Linked DNA regions of Homo sapiens: regions 2, 3 and 4 are each linked to region 1. The links are contacts of gene promoters, found by promoter capture Hi-C in blood cells and fetal thymus (Javierre and others, 2016). All regions are on one chromosome and are shown on one strand. Each heading gives the region's core, a stretch centred on a gene start or on the middle of the fragment in contact. The rest is flanking DNA. Distances are from core to core; before and after follow the strand shown.

Region 1 (4,246 bases), core at 543-3,042:
GAAGAAAAAGGTAAAAATTTAGGGTGGGACTTTAACCTATATATCAAATACTATTCCTTTAAAAATGTCTATATTTAAAAATATCGATTGTGGGTATACAGGTATATTATTTTATATACCTTATGTTTGAAATACTATATAATTTTTAGAGATGAGATAGAAAACCTATGAAAAGTTGTATTAGAAAGTATTATGTGTTTATTAATTTTCAGGAGTAAGGATAATCTTCAAATTGGGAAGAAACAGAATTAGTCACAAAAAATGGGAAATTAGTTGAAACTCCCAAATATCCCCAAACTCTATAATTGAATTCAAAAGAAAAAGAATTGGCTTAGAAAAAAGTATCTTCAGCAGATAGAACCAAATGCTAGCATAGTTCTATAAGACAGCATATAATCTGACATGGAAATGCTGACAATATAAAAGGTAAAGGAAATGACGAAGAAAGAACTCAAGTATGTCCTATCAAAATAGTATTTTAAAATCAACATTAAAACAAATGACCATTTTTGTAATTTATTCATTTAGCAAGTAATTGAACATGTCCAAATCAGTGAGGATGTGGTGAAAACAGAACAGCTGGTATTTGCTAAATTTGGCACTACCCTTTAGCATAGCAATTGCTATGTGTTAAATTAATAAAAAATATCATACCCTTAATTTATTTATCCCATTTCTGAAATTTGTGCTAAGAACTAATGCTGAAGGAAGAAAAGACATGTCTAGGAAAGTAGTCCTTGCAATATAATTTATAAGTTTGAAGCTTCTAATTCCCTAAGAGGACAGTTATTTATTTGCCGGATTTTCAGTCATTTTAATGACAGTCAGGAAAACTCAATAGCAACCAGGGAATAGTTGAGTTGTTAAATGACTATAGGGTGTAAAAGAGGGGGAAAGCAAGAACCGCATTGTAAGGTAAGGCAAAATCAGGGTCAAGACTAGGGTGAGGAAACTGAGACACTTCCTTAGGAGCCAAATTTGGAATGGGCACAAAAAAAAAAAATCAAGATAACAAACATTTTTAAAAGGCAAAGCTAATGTGACATCGATGATGGAAAAAGCTAAAAATAAAAATTTCAAATACAAACAGAATCTCATCTTGATTTGCACCACCCTGAGAGTGTCGCACTTGTTTTTCCCTAATCCAGACCCAAGGAACCTGTCTTTGTTAAATTTTTTAACATTTTCTTTACCCTTGATATTGATATTTTTGCACTGATTTTTAATTTTTAAAAACCCGTTGCATTAAAATATCATTTTCTTGAATTGGCGCCCCCTTAAAATCTGCACTTCAGGCCAGTGCCTCCATCACCTTAGTCCTGGCCCTGTGTAATATCATGGTAATAAGCATGTGTTAGAGTGTCCGCAGTTTTTCTCTGTGTAAACTTCACGTGTACTTTAAAAACCAAGCTAAAAGTGCGGTTCTCCGCGATCCTTCAGCCTCAGAGCAGTGGCCCCAACTACCCGAGATCCAGGGAGGCGTTGTGGCAACGGTAGTGGAAGGGTCGGCAAACCGCCTTCCGGCCTCACCATGAAGCGCAAGTTAGACCCTCGGGGAATGACGTCGCCCCGCAGCTCATTGTGGAGGTTCACGTACTCGTTGATAAAGTCTACGTCCTCCTCGTCTGGCAAAAATCTGGCGTTCAAACTAGAACCCAGTAGCAGTAGCCACAGCTCACAGAGCCGCAGCTTCAAAACGCCCCCTACTGCCAGGGGTAGGGACTGGGCCCTCCACTCCCGGGCGAAGGGCCTTGCGGCCTCCATGGTCCACCGGCCGCTGACAGGCCAGTGCGCACGCGCTGGCCGTCCCAGTGACCTGCCAATCTACGGAGGACGCAAGCAAGCCTTGTCCCGCCTCCCGGAAGGAGAAAGGGAGGAGGGAGGAGGGAAAAACAAAGGAGGGAGGAGGGGGTAAGGAGGAGGGAGGAGAGAAGAGGGAGGGGAGAGTGGGTAGGGGAGGGGGAGAGGAGGGGAAAGCTAGACCTGCAGAGTGAAGAAAGCTGGTAATAGATGTCTGACAAACTAAAGAAAGACTTGTGTTACGTGAGTAAGCCCTTTTCACTAAACTAATGTAGTGAAATGTTATCCCGAATTGATTTCTGACACTGAATGATATGTCGTTATTAATGAGTCATCAGTTTGTATGGTAAATGCCAATTGCTGAGTAACAGGTCTGAGGAACCTTCTAATTGTGCCAGGTGAAATGATTTTTCTGCGATACAGATACAAATTCAATTAAATTTTTTTTCCCCATTACCTGTTGAGTTGGAAATTTGGTGCAGGGCCTGCCTTTTATTTTCCTCAGGGACAGAATGGAATACAGAAATATTGCTAGTTCTTAAGGCCAAAGAAGTTCTTAAGGCCAACTTAATTGATGAGATTTTTTTCAGTTTTTAAATGAACCTTTGTGGGAAACCACAAAATAAATGGGAGTGAAGGGAGAGTAGGGATCACCAAACTCTTCAAAGGTTAAAACATTTCTACTTCTTCTCTCATCAGCACAATTCAGACAGCCCGGAATATCAAGATTCATCTTTTTCACTAATTGTGGCATTCACAGTAAGAACGAACTCTTTTGTTTTCTTTTTTTGTTCCAGACAAAATTGGCTAATATCTAGCTGATTTTGGTCTGATCTGTTTACCTCCAAACATTTTCCTCAAAAACAAAACAAAACAAAACCAACTTGCTTTGAAGACTTTAAATTCTAAGCATGGAAAAAAAGCAAGTATTAGTTTTGGAATACACGTTTGCATATTACATATTGTGCTTAATAGCATTAAGCAGATATGGAAAATTGACATTGGGAGAGAATTTTACTACAAAACATTGTAACAGGTTAGCCAAACATTTATAAAAAGAAAAGTGCTTTTAAAAATTGTCTGTGATGCACACAATTGAAAAACAATAGACCTATGTAAGATGGTTTCATTTATGCCCTTGAATACTTACTACTATGACTGCATAGTAGTAAGTTTTAAGTGATTGAGAAAGATCAGTAGACAAGACACAGATCCAGCTTTCAAGCAGCTTACAATTTAGTGAATTAGCAATCAGGCAGTATTTAAAACGTGATAAATACAAAGCCAAAATTCTATTGCTTGGTACTCTTGTGGAGGAGCAGGGAAGCCTTTCTGGAAATTGTATACAGAAAGTGAAACAGACAAGTCTAAGATAGCATTCTAAACAAAGGGAAAAGCATGTAATGTGCCTAAGGAGAGGAAGATCCTAAACGCTAGAAGTATTTTAGTATGGCTAGAACCTATTTAAGGGTGAAGGTGGCAAGTGCTGAAAGATGCAATTCTTTTATTATGGTGGTACTGTTGTTAGACTGCAAAAAATGCTAAAGAAAAAGTATAAATAGAATAATGCAATCTTAGATTTGGAAGAAATTTTAGCCACTATTGCTAGCCTCCTGTGTTAGGTATACTCTCCGGAACATCACTGACAGGTGATCATCACATCCTTTTCTTAAATAATTAGACCAACAGGGAAGCCCATTCCACTGCTAGACATCTCATTCAATAAATATTTCCTTGGTACTTCCTGTGTGTCACAGCCCAGCTAAAGGCTCAAATGCTGAACAAGCTAGACATGGAGTCTATCCACAGGGAGCTTTTAATTAAAGGTGACACAGATGAATCATCAAACAGTTACAATACAGAGTGGTGAATACTATTTTTAATCTATTTCACAAATATTTAATGTGTCAGGCACTATTTAAAATGCTTGGACAATATCAACTCACTCAAGTCACACAAATCTTAAGAAATAGTTATTATCCCTTTAACAGATGGAAAAACAACTGAGAAAAAGAGAAATCAAATTGCCTGAGGCCACCCAGCCAGGGAGTGGTAGAGCTACTTCTGTGTTTTTTTTGTTTTGTTTTGTTTTTTTTACCAATTCCTTTTCTAAAAATAGACTCTTTTTTAATAGCAGTTTTAGGTTCACAACAAAACTGAGAGGAAGGTACAGAGATTTCTCATGTAACTCCTGTCCCCACACATACATAAACTCCCTCATTATCAACATCCCACAACAGAGTAGTACATTTACAACTGATGAACCTACATTTATCCATTATTCCCACCCAGAGTTCATAGTGTATATTAGGGCTCATTCTTGGTGTTGCACATTTCATGGGTTGGTATAAATGTATAATGACATGTTTCCAGCATTTAGTACCATATAGAGTCGTTTTGCTGCCTAAAAATCCCTGGTGCTCAGACTATTCATCTCTCCCTGCCT
Region 2 (4,246 bases), core at 1,416-3,915, 1.4 Mb before region 1:
TACACACAGACACACTCTCCCTCATCTATCCTGAGGTATCTGAAGGTCTACAGTTAATCTTACATCATTTTACAATGTGTTATTTTGTAAATGTTATTACTTCGGAGCCTAGCAAAGGGTCAAGACCATACTTGGATTCTCAATAAACACTCCCTTGTAGCAAAGCACACGTCTTTAAAAACATCAAATAGGGCAAAAGGGCTTATAATAAGAAGTCCTCTGCCCATCTTCTCTTCAATCCCCAGAGACAACCAATACTAATTATTTTAGCCACTCTAATATATGCATACTACAATTGTTTATCAATTTGAGGTACTACTTTTTACCACAATATTAATAGCCAACACTTATTGTTGTTTACTAAGTGCCAGACACAGAACTTCACATGTATTATCTCACTTAATCCTCACAACAGCCTCATAAAGTAGGTGTTATTATACCCCCATTTTAGTTTGGAAAATTGGGATGCAGAGTTCAATAACGTGCCCAGGATTGCAAGCTAGTGAGCAGAATTGAGATTTGAATCCTAACACCATTGCTCACTTTTAACCTATATACTCTTATATCCACCAACTCCACAGTCCACTCTTAATAAATACTTTTGAGATCCTCCCAAATTAAATAAAAATAATGAACAAAATAAAACAAGCCGAATCAGGAAAATGACATTTCTCAAAACCAGAACAATTTTTTGGTCAGTAATTTTCAACTCTGGCTTTGAGCACAATCCATGAAGTCTCACCAATTAATCACATTTTAATTTTATATCTATTGACTCAGTGATTACTAAGCTTAATAGTAATGCTCAGTGGTTACTGGGCTTAACAGTGGTCACTATACTAAGCATAGTAGTTACTAAGCTTAATATATAGTATTTTAAAATATACATTATTTTAAAATCTAGATTATTATTATATGACCTATAACATTTTTGCTGAATTTTTTAAAAGGCATCAAATCCTAGTGACTGCATAAAGAAGTGCTTTGAAGGAAAAGAGTTGCAGGTAACCTATGGGAAGAAAAACAACTTTCAAAGTCATTTTGTATCTGCTTTCTGAAAGCAAATGAATTACCTTATATGTGTACAAATACATATATATACACACACACATATAATATATACATAATAGGGCAAAAAGTAATAGAAAATGGCAAAATTCTTTTCACTAAAGAACAGCTTCATGGCCGAGCATGGTGGCTCATGCCTGTAACCCCAGCAGTTTGGGAGGCCGAGGCGGGTGGATCACCTGAGGTCAGGCGTTCCAGACCAGCCTGGCCAACATGGTGAAACCCCATCTCTACTAGAAATACAAAAAATTAGCCACGTGTGGTGGCAGGCACCTGTAATCCCAGCTACTCGGGAGGCTGATGCAGGAGAATCGCTTGAACGCAGGAGGCTGAGGTTGCAGTAAGCCGAGATCACGTCATTGCACTTCAGCCTGGGCAACAAGAGCGCAACTCCATCTCAAACTAAAGCAAAAAACCAAAAGCTTCAAAAAGTAGATTTTATGAAATCTGTGAGGACAGTAGATAATAGCAATAGTTTGATTTAATATTCAAACAGAAATCATCAGAAATAATAAAATGAATGTGAAATAAAAAACGTTACCATAAAAAGAGAGACGAAAATGAGAAAAAAAGGCAATAGCAGAAGTTTTGAAATAGAGAAAAAAGGAAGAAAGAAAGAGATGAAAGCCCTAGATAATCTAGGCAATCCAGTTCAAAGCTCTGAGTCAGATGGTTCTGAAATAGCCCCTGTGATACTGTGGCAGAAGGGGATATTGTGATCTCATTCTATCAAAGAGCTGAGATGACTTACTGAGGATGTACTAGTAGGTAAAATGGAAGCTGGTCATGGCTAGTCTGCTGGACCAGTAGACCAACATATGGTCTCTGTCCCTCTACGGAAGCCTTTCTTCTAACCACTCTAAATGACAGGAATCTGACACCACTTACAAGCTACATTACTTAATTCAGTACTTATTTGAATCGTCCAGTGTTTCACGTGCCTACAACTTCCCAACTAGTTATTTACCTTCTGGAAAACATATGCTATCTTTTTTATGTTATTTTAACCCATATAACCTAACACAATGCTACGTACCTAGTAGACAGATGCTCAAGTTGATTATATTGAAAAATCACAATTTAAAACCAGAACACTTGAGTCTGAAGAAATCTTAGAGGTCATCTAGTCTAGCTACTTTATCTTAAAAGCAACAAAACTGAGACCAGTTAAATACCTACTAGCTCAAGGTCACTGAGCTAGAACTAGTACCCTAATCCCTTGATCATCAGTTCTTCTTTATCCAAAGAGCCTTTAATTTCTTTCATTTCAATAAAACAAATAATCACCTATTTCAAAAGAAAACAAAGTAACAGCAGCTTCCCTTTCAGTATTCACTATATGCCAGGGCCTTCAGAAGGTACAATTTGCTTGGCAGCCTATGTGCCTAGGTCTATGAAAACTGCTTTATAAACATTAGCCTAGTTAATATTCACAATAACTGTAAAAGGTGTCACTATTAACCCAACTTTACAAATGAGAAAAATGTACTTTGACCATGATAACAGTAAGCTGCAGAAGCTACATTTTCAGTTTGTCACCACAGCTTTGGATTTTTTTTTTTTTTAAGAGAGTTTTGCTCTTGTTGCCCAGGCTGGAGTGCAATCTCGGCTCACTGCAACCTCCACCTCCCGGGTTCAAGCAATTCTCCTGCCTCAGCCTCCTGAGGAGCTGGGATTATAGGCATGTGCCACCACGCATGGCTAATTTTGTATTTTTAATAGAGACAAGGTTTCTCCATGTTGGTCAGGTTGGTCTTGAACTCCGAACCTCAGGTGATCCGCCCGCCTCGGCCTCCCTAAACCCTGGGATTACAGGCGTGAGCCACCACGCCCAGCCAACTTTGGCTCTTAACCAGTATTCTACACTGCCTCTCACTGAACACCAAAAATATCCTGAAGTCTCACACAGACTCCAGCACAATTCCTTACCCAAACATGACAAACAAATGTTTAAATGACCAACTAAATGAGTGGATGATTTAATTCATTAAAAAGTAAGATTATCTTACCTAAAATACCTCTAAAAAGGCGTTTATCTAATTGTATAATCCTCTAAGAAAGGTTTTAACAGTGGGCAGTTTGCATACTAATAAGAGATTTAAGCAATGCTCATTTCTTTACCCACAAATAATTCATCTGCTTAACAAATACTAAAGTGAAAAACTGTTTTTGTGTGAGAGTATTAAATTGGAAGATAAAAAGTGAAATGAAATTTGTTCCTGCAAGATCCTATTCCACTAAATTAAAACCCACATAAGTTTTAAATCAGTCACCAAAACCAAAATAAATGTGTAACACTTCCCTTTCTTCTGGTAGAGAAAAAAGAAGTAACATTAACTGAGCACCTACAATGTGCCAGTTCTTGACCCTCAACATATAGCCTCACTTAATCCCTTACAGCCAAGTAAACTAGGCAGCATCTCCATTTTCTTTTCTTTTCTTTTTTTTTTTTTTTTGAGACATAATCTTGCTCTGTCACCCAGGATGGAGTACAGCTGCTCGATCATGGCTCACTGCAGCCTCAACCTTCCAGGCTCAAGCAATCCTCCCACCTCAGCATCCGATTAGCTGGGACTACAGGCGTGTACCACCATGCTCAGCTAATTTTTGTATTTTCTGTAGACACAGAGTTTTGCCATGTTGCCCAGGATGGTCTCGAACTCCTGGGCTCAAGTGATTCTCTCACCTCGGCTTCCCAAAGTGCTGGGACTACAGGTGTGAGCCTCCGAGCCCAGCCAGGATCTCCATTTTCTGATTACAACTGAAGCTTAAAGAAATTAAGCACTTGTCTCAGGTCACTTAGCTAGTTACCGAATTTCCAGAATTAGAATCCAAGTCTGTCTGACCCAAAGTCTATGTTCTCTCCAAAAAGAGGTTAAAAGTACTATTATTTCATTACTTACCAAGACAGAGAATGGGTTTCTTCCCAAAGGAGACTGAAAACACTGCTTATTTTAACAACAAAAACATATTATCTCAGTTAATCCTCGCTATAGCTTATTAACTATTATTTTTATCCATTATAAATGATGAAACTAGAACTCAGAGACGTATTCATAGCTTGCCCAAGAACACACTGCTAGGAGGCAGCAGAACTACCCCAGGTCTGCACCAGCTGCACACACTAACCACAGAAAATGCAGAAAGACCTCAGCCATGTAGTACAAGCTTAAGGTCC
Region 3 (4,246 bases), core at 553-3,052, 1.2 Mb before region 1:
GTTAAAGAAGAAAGGGAGCCTGTGAAGCCCCTCAGTCACTCCTCCTACATCTCATCCTGTTCTCCCACTGATCTAGCTTAAAGTCTTCCTGCTGGAACATTTCACCCTATACCAGGTGGTGGGGAAAAAAATTTTTTTTATTAACTTACGTATCTCAATTGAGCATTGGAAGTCTATTGTGAATTCATCTGATGAAAAAGTTGAATGCATCTCTTCAGAAGTTTATCATTATCATCTGCAATCTACTGAGAACTTTTTAAAAAATGAATCCTGCAATTGTATGGCCAGCAGGGGGCAACTAAATACTTCCCAAAACAGCATCTTGTATAAGAGAACAAGTTAAAATTGGAGACTGTTAGCATTCTTAGCTGTGTAGGAGAGCTGACTTCCTTCTAAAATGATAATTAACACCTAGACACATTCTCACAATACTGAATTTGTGAAGATAATTGGAACAGTTTCCTAAGTGGACAGATTATAAAACCACATTCTGGGGCCTGTATGTGGCAGATTTGTTTTGGCTGTTTTTTCAGTCCACAAGGTTCCTTGCAAAAATTTATGTATTTTATGATGAATAGCTTTGTAAAACTTCTTGTATTATAGAAAATATAATGAATCTTGACTTATTTCTGTAGGTTATTTTAGAATTCTGCTATTTTTACTTAACATTCAAAGATAAAAGTAAATAGGGATTGCAGAGGATCTTGTTCTTAAAGTATAATAAAGAATCATTTCTTAGCCCTGTTTTATAGAACTAATTTTTAAGCTTGTTATATTAGTTAGGGTTGTCCAGAGAAACCAAACCAACAGAATGTGTATACATATAGATATTATAGATATAGATGTTTATTTTAAGGAATTGGCACACATGATTGTGGGGACTCAGTTTCTGCTTGAGTCCAAAGGCAACCTGCTGGCAGAATTCCTTCCTTCTCTGGGGAGGTCAGTCTTTGATTTATGAAGGCCTTCAACCGATTGATGAGGCCCGTCCATATTATGGAAAGTAATCTGCTTTACTTAAAATCCACTGGTTAAAATGTTAATCTCATCCAAAAACACCTTCACCAAAACATCCAGAATAACGTTTAACCAAATATCTGGGTACCACAGCCCAGCCAAGTTGTCAAATAAAATAACCATCACAGTTGCCTATTTCTTTACATCACAGTCTCAAAGTCGTAGGAGATCTATATGGTGAAATAGCTCAACCCTCCTCCAGATGCAGCTGCAATGCCTGGCAAAGAGAAAGCATTTAGCAAATATATGCTGATTTGAATTGAACTGAATGTATATGAATTGAATTAAATATCCCTAGTGGTGGCTAGGTTCTGCCAGGCTTCCAGTGCGGTGCTGGGAGGTAATGGAAGATAGAAGTTAGGCACAGGCTCTGGAGTCAGATAGGTCCATATGCTGAGGCTCCCCTACTTACCTTATATGTACCTTTGGATGAATAACTTAATTTTTCTAAGCCTACATTTCTTCACCTATATAAAAACAACAGTCATAATAGCTATTTATGCTACATATTGCTTTGTTAATCAATATTTACTTCTCTTTCCTTTCTGGCCACTCAGTGGATTGACTGTATTCCTCAGCGACCCTACAACTGAATGGAGCCATGTGACTTGGTCTGGCCAGTGAAAACTGTAGATTTTACGTGTGTCACCTTCAGGATGTGGCAGTAAAAGGTCGATATGAAATTTTTTTCTTTCCCGACTGTGGCAACCATGGAAAAAGATTCATCTTAAGATGGCAGCACCACAAGGTTGAAGCTGCCTGGATTATCACGTTGTTGCATGGAAGACAGTTGCCTGGAGAGTTGCCTGCAGCCAGAGCTAACTTTTTGTTAAACATTTGCTTTTTCTCCCAACTGCAGCACAACCTAGACTATTCTCATGTATTGTCTCACAGAGTTGTTTTGAGGATTCAATCAGATATTGTTTCGCAGGAAACTGCTCATTTGACAAGCCATAAGCACTCAAATGTTATAATTATGATATTTCTTTGCCTTGATCATTATAGCAATTCAAAACTCAAACAATAAAATTAGAGTACCAGGTAACTTTTGTTTAAAGTATTAGTATTCTAACTCTTTAAACTTCTCCTCTGAACACTGCCTTGCACACAGTAGGCATTCATAAATAAACAAAAAAAATTTTTTTTTTTTGAGACAGGGTCTCACTCTGTCACCCAGGCTTTAACATGGTGCTACAACCAAGGCTCACTTTAGCCTTGACCTCCTGGGCTCAAGCAATCCTCCTGTGTCGGACTCCCAAGATACTGGGATTACAGACATAAGCTGCCACACTTGGCTGCTGGGATATTTTATTCCCTTATTGTTAGACTGGCAAGATTTAAGTTTATTTCTTTTGCTAGACCTAGGTTCTCATAAAACAACTACTTTTGGTTAGAGTTACCTATTAAAAAATGTATTACTATCCTGTCATTAATGGGGCTTAGGCAGTGATAGCTGCTCACACATCTTAACTCTTCCCTGAATTCAGACCCAATTGATAGGAAGCCAAAAAGATAAAATACCAACTTCTCGGCTTGGCATGGTGGCTCATGACTATAAGCCCAGCACTTCAGAAGGCCGAGGTGGGAGAGTTGCTTGAGTCCAGGAGTTCAAGATCAGCCTAGCATAGGGAGACTCCATCTCTACAAAATGTTTGAAAAATTAGCCAGGCATGTGGCATATGTCTGTAGTCCCAGCTACTTGGGAGACTGAGGTAGGAGGATCGCTTGAGCCAAGGAGGTAGAGGCTGCAGTGAGCAGTGATATTATGCCATTGCACTCCAGCCTGGGTGACAGAGTGAGACTTCATTTCAAAAAAGCTTCCTAAGATAAAGCTGATTGGATGTATTATAATATACAACCATGACCAGGTTTTTCAATATTTCTTTTTTTTTTTTTTAGACGGAGTCTCACTCTGTCACCCAGGCTGGAGTGCAGTGGCGTGATCTCAGCTCACTGCAACCTCTGCCTCCTGGGTTCAAGCAATTCTCCTGCCTCAGCCTCCCGAGTAGCTGGGATTACAGGCACCTGCCACCATGCCCAGCTAATTTTTGTATTTTTGGTAGAGACGGGGTTTCACCATGTTGGCCAAGCTGGTCAAATACTTCCTAAGTCCAAATGGGTGATGACTCGCCACAGGAGAATTTGAGTCTGCACGATGGATAGACTTGTGTAGAATCACTGTTTCTGCTTGGTGAGATCAACAGTAGAAAGAATGAGAGTTAGGCCTCAGGCCTGTTCTAGAAGACAAGCATAGGCCCTAATCCGTGTGTTTTTAGTTTATGACATATATTGAGGAACTGAGCAGAATATAATTTCTTGTGGGTGGGAAGATTTGAAAAAGATGGCAAGAAATGGCTTGGGTTTTATGTTTTTCTCCCCAAATCACCAATTAAATACAAAACTCCTTCCACTTGGGGAAAGTGGCAGAAAGAAAGATGAAATTTCCTCTTGACTCTATAGTTCTGAAAGAAACATATTTCTATTTTAAGAGCCAGGTAGGAAAACTGTGAGGCAGAGAAGATGGTTCCTTTTAATATAAACAAATAAATTATTGTTCTTGTGGTCTGAATGTTTATGTTCCCCCAAAATTCAAATGTTGAACTCCTCACCTCCAAAATGATGGTATTGGGAGGCGGGGCATTTGGGATATTATTAGATTATAGGGTTATTTCCCTCATTAATAAGATTACTGCCATTATAAAATGGGCCTGAGAGAGAACCCTCAGCCCTTCCACCGTGTGAGGTTAGAATGAGAAGACAGCTGTCTATGAGGAAGTAGACCCTTACCAGACACTGCATCTGCCAGTATCGTATCTTAAACTTCTTAGCCTCTAGAGCTTTGAAAAATAAATCTCTGTTTTTTATAAGCCACTCACACTATGGTATTTTGTTATAGCAGCATGAATGGACTAAGATACTTGTGATATTCTTGTAAGTTTTTATGTTCTGAAGTTACCTTATAATTATATAAGAAATAGGGTTTTTATGATATACTAAAAATCAATTAATTAGTACAAAAATTAAAAGTATCAAGAAGAAGTCACATATGCTAACATTTTTAGTGATAATTTTTCCTAACTTCCTCCCTACTTTTTGCTGGTAATAAAGTTTTCCTAATTTTTACTCATAATAAACTAATCCACAGGAAACATTCAATAGCAAATCATGTATAAATACTTAGCATATACTATGTGCAAAATACTTTGCCAAATGAGGGGATACAGACATT
Region 4 (4,246 bases), core at 846-3,345, 1.1 Mb before region 1:
GAAAGAATGTGGAGATCCTCAGGTACTTTGGACTTGGCAGTTTGCCCTGTTTCTTCATTGAGTGTTTTCACTTTGTTTCTGCTCTCTGAAACTGGGCATGGCTCGCTATTACTGAGCGATAGATAGTAGGATGGCCAAATGGGTGAGAAGCAACTACAAAGCACTACTTAAATTGTTTATTGGGGCAGCAAGCTTTAAGAGACAGACTTTGGAACCAAATGGTTCTGAGTTAGAATCTTGCCTCTATTACTGTTTAGCCTCAGGCAAGGCAATCTCTGACCCTCAAGTTTCCTCCTCTCTAAAACAGTTATCATACCGACTTTTCGTGAAAATTAGAAATTAGAGTAGAAATTCTAGCGAATGTCAAATATTATTTTATACTGCTAGTAATTTGTAGTTTTTCTGATTACTAATGAGGCTGAGTATCTTTATATGTTTATCGACGATTTGTATTTTTTTTTTTGGGAAATGACTGGCTTTGGCTTATTTTGTTGGTAAATATAAAGAATAAATAGCACAATGAAAGGCACACAGTAAACCTTAGGCCTTTCATTATCAGTTGGATATGTATTTTCATTATTATAATGTCTATAATTTGTATATTTGACTCAAACATACCTGTCAGTTCTTCTTGGATCAGTAACAAACCAACATGAAAACAAGATGACTGTGAGAATTTATTAAAGTATTGAGTTGGTAAAATGAATATAACCACCAAGGCCATTTCAGTTTTGATCTTATTCCATGTTATTAACTATACTATTATGTAAATCTGTGACTTCAGTACTAATTATTTTTCCCTTCTTTCCTTGAGCTGTTGTAGCAAACAGTGACGAATCTCAGCTTCTGACACCAGGAAAGATGAGTCAGCGCCAAGGAAAAGAAGCTTATCCAACGCCAACCAAAGATTTGCATCAGCCATCTCTTAGTCCAGCAAGTCCTCATAGCCAGGGTAGGAAGTTGTGGTTTTCATGTTTTGTCTTGTTTTTGTTTTTGTTTTTGGAGGGGAGAAGGGGAGAATGACATTTGGGGACTATCATATTTTTTTTCTTTTTAACTATTTGGTTTTGTAAGGGGTTTTGTTTGTTTTGTTTAGGTCATCTATAATACTCTTGAAATGAGTACACTTTCCTTTAGACTTTTAATTTTTTTTAATATTCTCCAACATACTTCGTTAGTTATATCATTCATCTAATTTGGCGATTCTCACACTTTGTGGTCTCATGGTTCCTTTGTAGTCTTAAAAATTATTGAAGACTGTGAAGTGCTTTTGTTTATGTGAGTTATATCTATTTTATTATATTATAAATTAAAACTAGAAATTTAAAAATTTAATTCATTTAAAGTAATAAACCCATTACATGTTAATGTAAGTAACATTTTTATTAAGAACTACAGTGTTTTCTTTCCCTCTACTCCCCAAAAAGTTGATTGAGAAGGTTGGTAATGGTTTATCCCAGGACTTCTCAACCTTCGAACTATTTTCAGGACTTCTCAACCTTGGCACTGTTTTGGCCTGGAAAGTTCTTTGTTGTGGAGGGCTGTCCTATGCATTATATGATGTTTAGCAGTATCCCTGGCCTCTACCCAGAAAATGTCAATAGCAGTTACCCCAGTTGTGACAACCAGAAATGTTTCCAGATGTTGCCAAGTATCCCTTGAGGGACAAAACCATCCATGATTAAGAACTGCTTTTTGGCGGTTTTTGCAAATCACTTTAATGTCTAGCTTAAAAGACACCTGCATTTTTGTATCTGCTTCTGCAGTCTGTTGTGATGTGATGATCCGATTGAAGTATATGAATAAAATCTGGTCTCATGCATATATATATATGGGGGGGGTTTATACATAATTATAGATATTCTTTGATAATATGCCAAAACTTGACTAGTAGTAATTTTCTTTATGTTAATTGCAATCTGGAATCTGAAACGCTGTCAGTACACTTTTCATACTCTGTTAAAATTCACTCTTGAATTTTGAATGGCTCTTTACTCATGCATGATTTTGTAACATCATGCATTAGTCATTTGGAAAATATTTGCTCACTGAATTATGCAGATCTTCCAAGTGTTGACACATTAAAAAATATAGTACAGAGAAGGGCTTTATGTATGCTTCTCATTCTGTTGCACAGAATATTAAAATCTTACGTACTAAAGGTTCAAGAGCAATAATTTTTACTTCTTCATCAAGGACATCTGTAAGTGAAACTGTCATTCTTCTGTGAGTGCATGACTGAAGAATTCAGTGCCTACTACTCCAGTTTGGTGCCTCTGCCTTGATTTATGCTAAGTTGCCAGCAGTTTTACCCAAGATTGCTTTTGTGCCATCAATGAAAATGGCAACATAATGAAAAAGTATTATGAAACTAGTTTTCACCTTGCAGATCCTCTAGAAGGGTCTTTGGGTACTCCCAGAAGTTCAGGGATCACAGTTTCTAATTCATAATTGATAAGTTTTGTATAATGGATTCTGCTCCTCAGCTGAAGTTTATTTAATCAAATGTACGGAAATCTCCTGTGGTACTACTCATAGCTGTGGTGGAAGGACTTCTGCTTTTAAAACTGAGAAATGAAATTTGGTGTTTTGAAAGTTAATGTATACTTAGGTTATTGAGTATTTTTAAAAATTAAATTTAGAGTTCTGTCATACTTTGTAATTAGTCAGTTTTGATGTTGTAACTTTATGAATTATCTTTTGAAATTTGGCTTTAGTAACTTTTCAAATGAGTACTACCTTGTAAATAGTAAGTTACATGATCATTTTCTACTTTCTTTCTTTATTTTTTGAGACAGAGTCTTGCTCTGTCGCCAGGCTAGAGTGCAGTGGCGCGATCTCAGCTCACTGCAACCTCCATCTCCCGGGTTCAAGCGATTCTCCTGCCTCAGCCTCCTGAGTAGCTGGAATTACAGGCGCATGCCACCATGCCCAGCTAATTTTTGTGTTTTTAGTAGAGACGGGATTTCACCGTGTTGGCCAGGATGGTCTTGATCTCTTGACCTTGTGATCCGCCCACCTTGGCCTCCCAAAGTGCTGGGATTACAGGCGTGAGCCACCGCACCCATCCTCTACTTTATTTCAATAGAAAATGTTTATCTAGTCATATATTAGATGGAAACACTTTCATATAGCATGGTAGGAACTATAAAAATTTATGTAACAAGATGAAAATAATTACTATAACATATATTGCTTAGTTGTCGATTGTATTTTTGAAAAGTTAGCATTTTTGTTGCCAAAATGCTTTTTGGAAGACCTGAAAAACGATATATGATACACACTCTGGTATAAATAAGCTTCATTAAGATAAAATTCTGAAACAATGCAACTGACCTGGTTTTTTTTTGCACTGTGCATCAGAATTTTGGCTATAATAGATATGGTTTCTCTGATGCATGTATCTGTGCACTAGAATATTTAGAGGAATTCTTTAACTTAGGAGTTAATGAACCAACAAAAGGGTTAGTTACTAATAATTAAAACTACACTTGTTTATATTTATTATGAATGTTTTCAGGCAAACAGGGAAGTTAAAAAAAGAGTACAGTGAACACTAATATACCCATTGTATAGATGTAAGGAGTTATTAACCTTTTGTTTTGTTTGTTTCATTTATTTAGGGTACAGCGTGAATATTTAGAGTAAATTACAGACTTCATGACGTACCCCAAAATACTTAATGTGTCTCTAAAAAATGAGCACATTTTCTTATGTAACCATAAAACCTTTATTACATCTAACAAAACTGATGATAATTGCTTAACATAACCTAACACCTAGTCTATATTTAAATTTTGCCTAGTTTTCCCCAAATCTTTCTACAGTAGGCTTGCTGAAACCAAATAAAGTCCATACATCTTATTTGGTTATGTCATTACGTCCTTAATCCTAAAGAGTCTCCTTGTTTACTTTTGTTTTCTTTTGTGTCTTTGACGGTTTTAAGAAACTTGGCTGACCGGGTGCAGTGGCTCATGCCTGTAATCCCAGCACTTTGGGAGGCCAAGGCGGGTGGATTACCTGAGGTCAGGAGTTCGAGACCAGCCTGGCCAACATGGTGAAACCCCATCTCTACTTAAAAATACAAAAAAATTAGCCAGGCTTGGTGGCGGGCACCTGTAATCCTAGCTATTTGAGAGGCTGAGGCAGGGGAATCACTTGAACCTGGGAGGCAGAGGTTGCAGTGAGCCGAGATCGCGCCATTGCACTCCAGCCTGGGCAATAAGAGTGAAACTCCATCTCAGGA

Evidence for each region. The method cuts DNA at HindIII sites, captures the fragments that hold promoters and counts their contacts. A CHiCAGO score of 5 or more calls a contact.
Region 2: a contact is called between a fragment that was not itself captured here and the fragment with the promoter of GLIPR1L2 in region 1, in 2 of 17 cell types (non-activated CD4 T cells and naive CD8 T cells). The highest score is 8.2, in non-activated CD4 T cells.
Region 3: a contact is called between a fragment that was not itself captured here and the fragment with the promoter of GLIPR1L2 in region 1, in 2 of 17 cell types (naive CD8 T cells and naive B cells). The highest score is 6.1, in naive CD8 T cells.
Region 4: a fragment that was not itself captured here is called in contact with the fragment with the promoter of GLIPR1L2 in region 1 in 2 of 17 cell types (monocytes and M2 macrophages); the score reaches 6.7 in monocytes.

Annotation. Positions count from the first base shown.
Region 1 is chr12:75,388,635-75,392,880 of GRCh38, reverse strand. GLIPR1L2 (GLIPR1 like 2) reads right to left here and starts at 1,792. Exons shown (of 6, transcript NM_001270396.2): 1 at 1,531-1,792. The coding sequence starts at 1,764. It also overlaps a transcript of CAPS2 not described here. RefSeq lists an enhancer at 1,731-1,860 and a silencer at 1,818-1,990. The HindIII fragment of the contact is 6,589 bases long and covers 766-4,246 here.
Region 2 is chr12:76,766,297-76,770,542 of GRCh38, reverse strand. The region is part of intron 1 of ZDHHC17 (zDHHC palmitoyltransferase 17); the gene reads right to left. Among named protein-coding and RNA genes, the nearest start is that of ZDHHC17, 4.3 kb to the right of the region's middle. The HindIII fragment of the contact is 2,345 bases long and covers 1,493-3,837 here.
Region 3 is chr12:76,583,039-76,587,284 of GRCh38, reverse strand. The region is part of intron 3 of LOC105369850 (a long non-coding RNA gene); the gene reads right to left. Among named protein-coding and RNA genes, the nearest start is that of OSBPL8, 25 kb to the right of the region's middle. RefSeq lists a silencer at 3,080-3,280. The HindIII fragment of the contact is 2,068 bases long and covers 769-2,836 here.
Region 4 is chr12:76,447,557-76,451,802 of GRCh38, reverse strand. It overlaps OSBPL8 (oxysterol binding protein like 8), which reads left to right. Exons shown (of 24, transcript NM_020841.5): 4 at 815-952. Among named protein-coding and RNA genes, the nearest start is that of BBS10, 100 kb to the right of the region's middle. The HindIII fragment of the contact is 2,413 bases long and covers 889-3,301 here.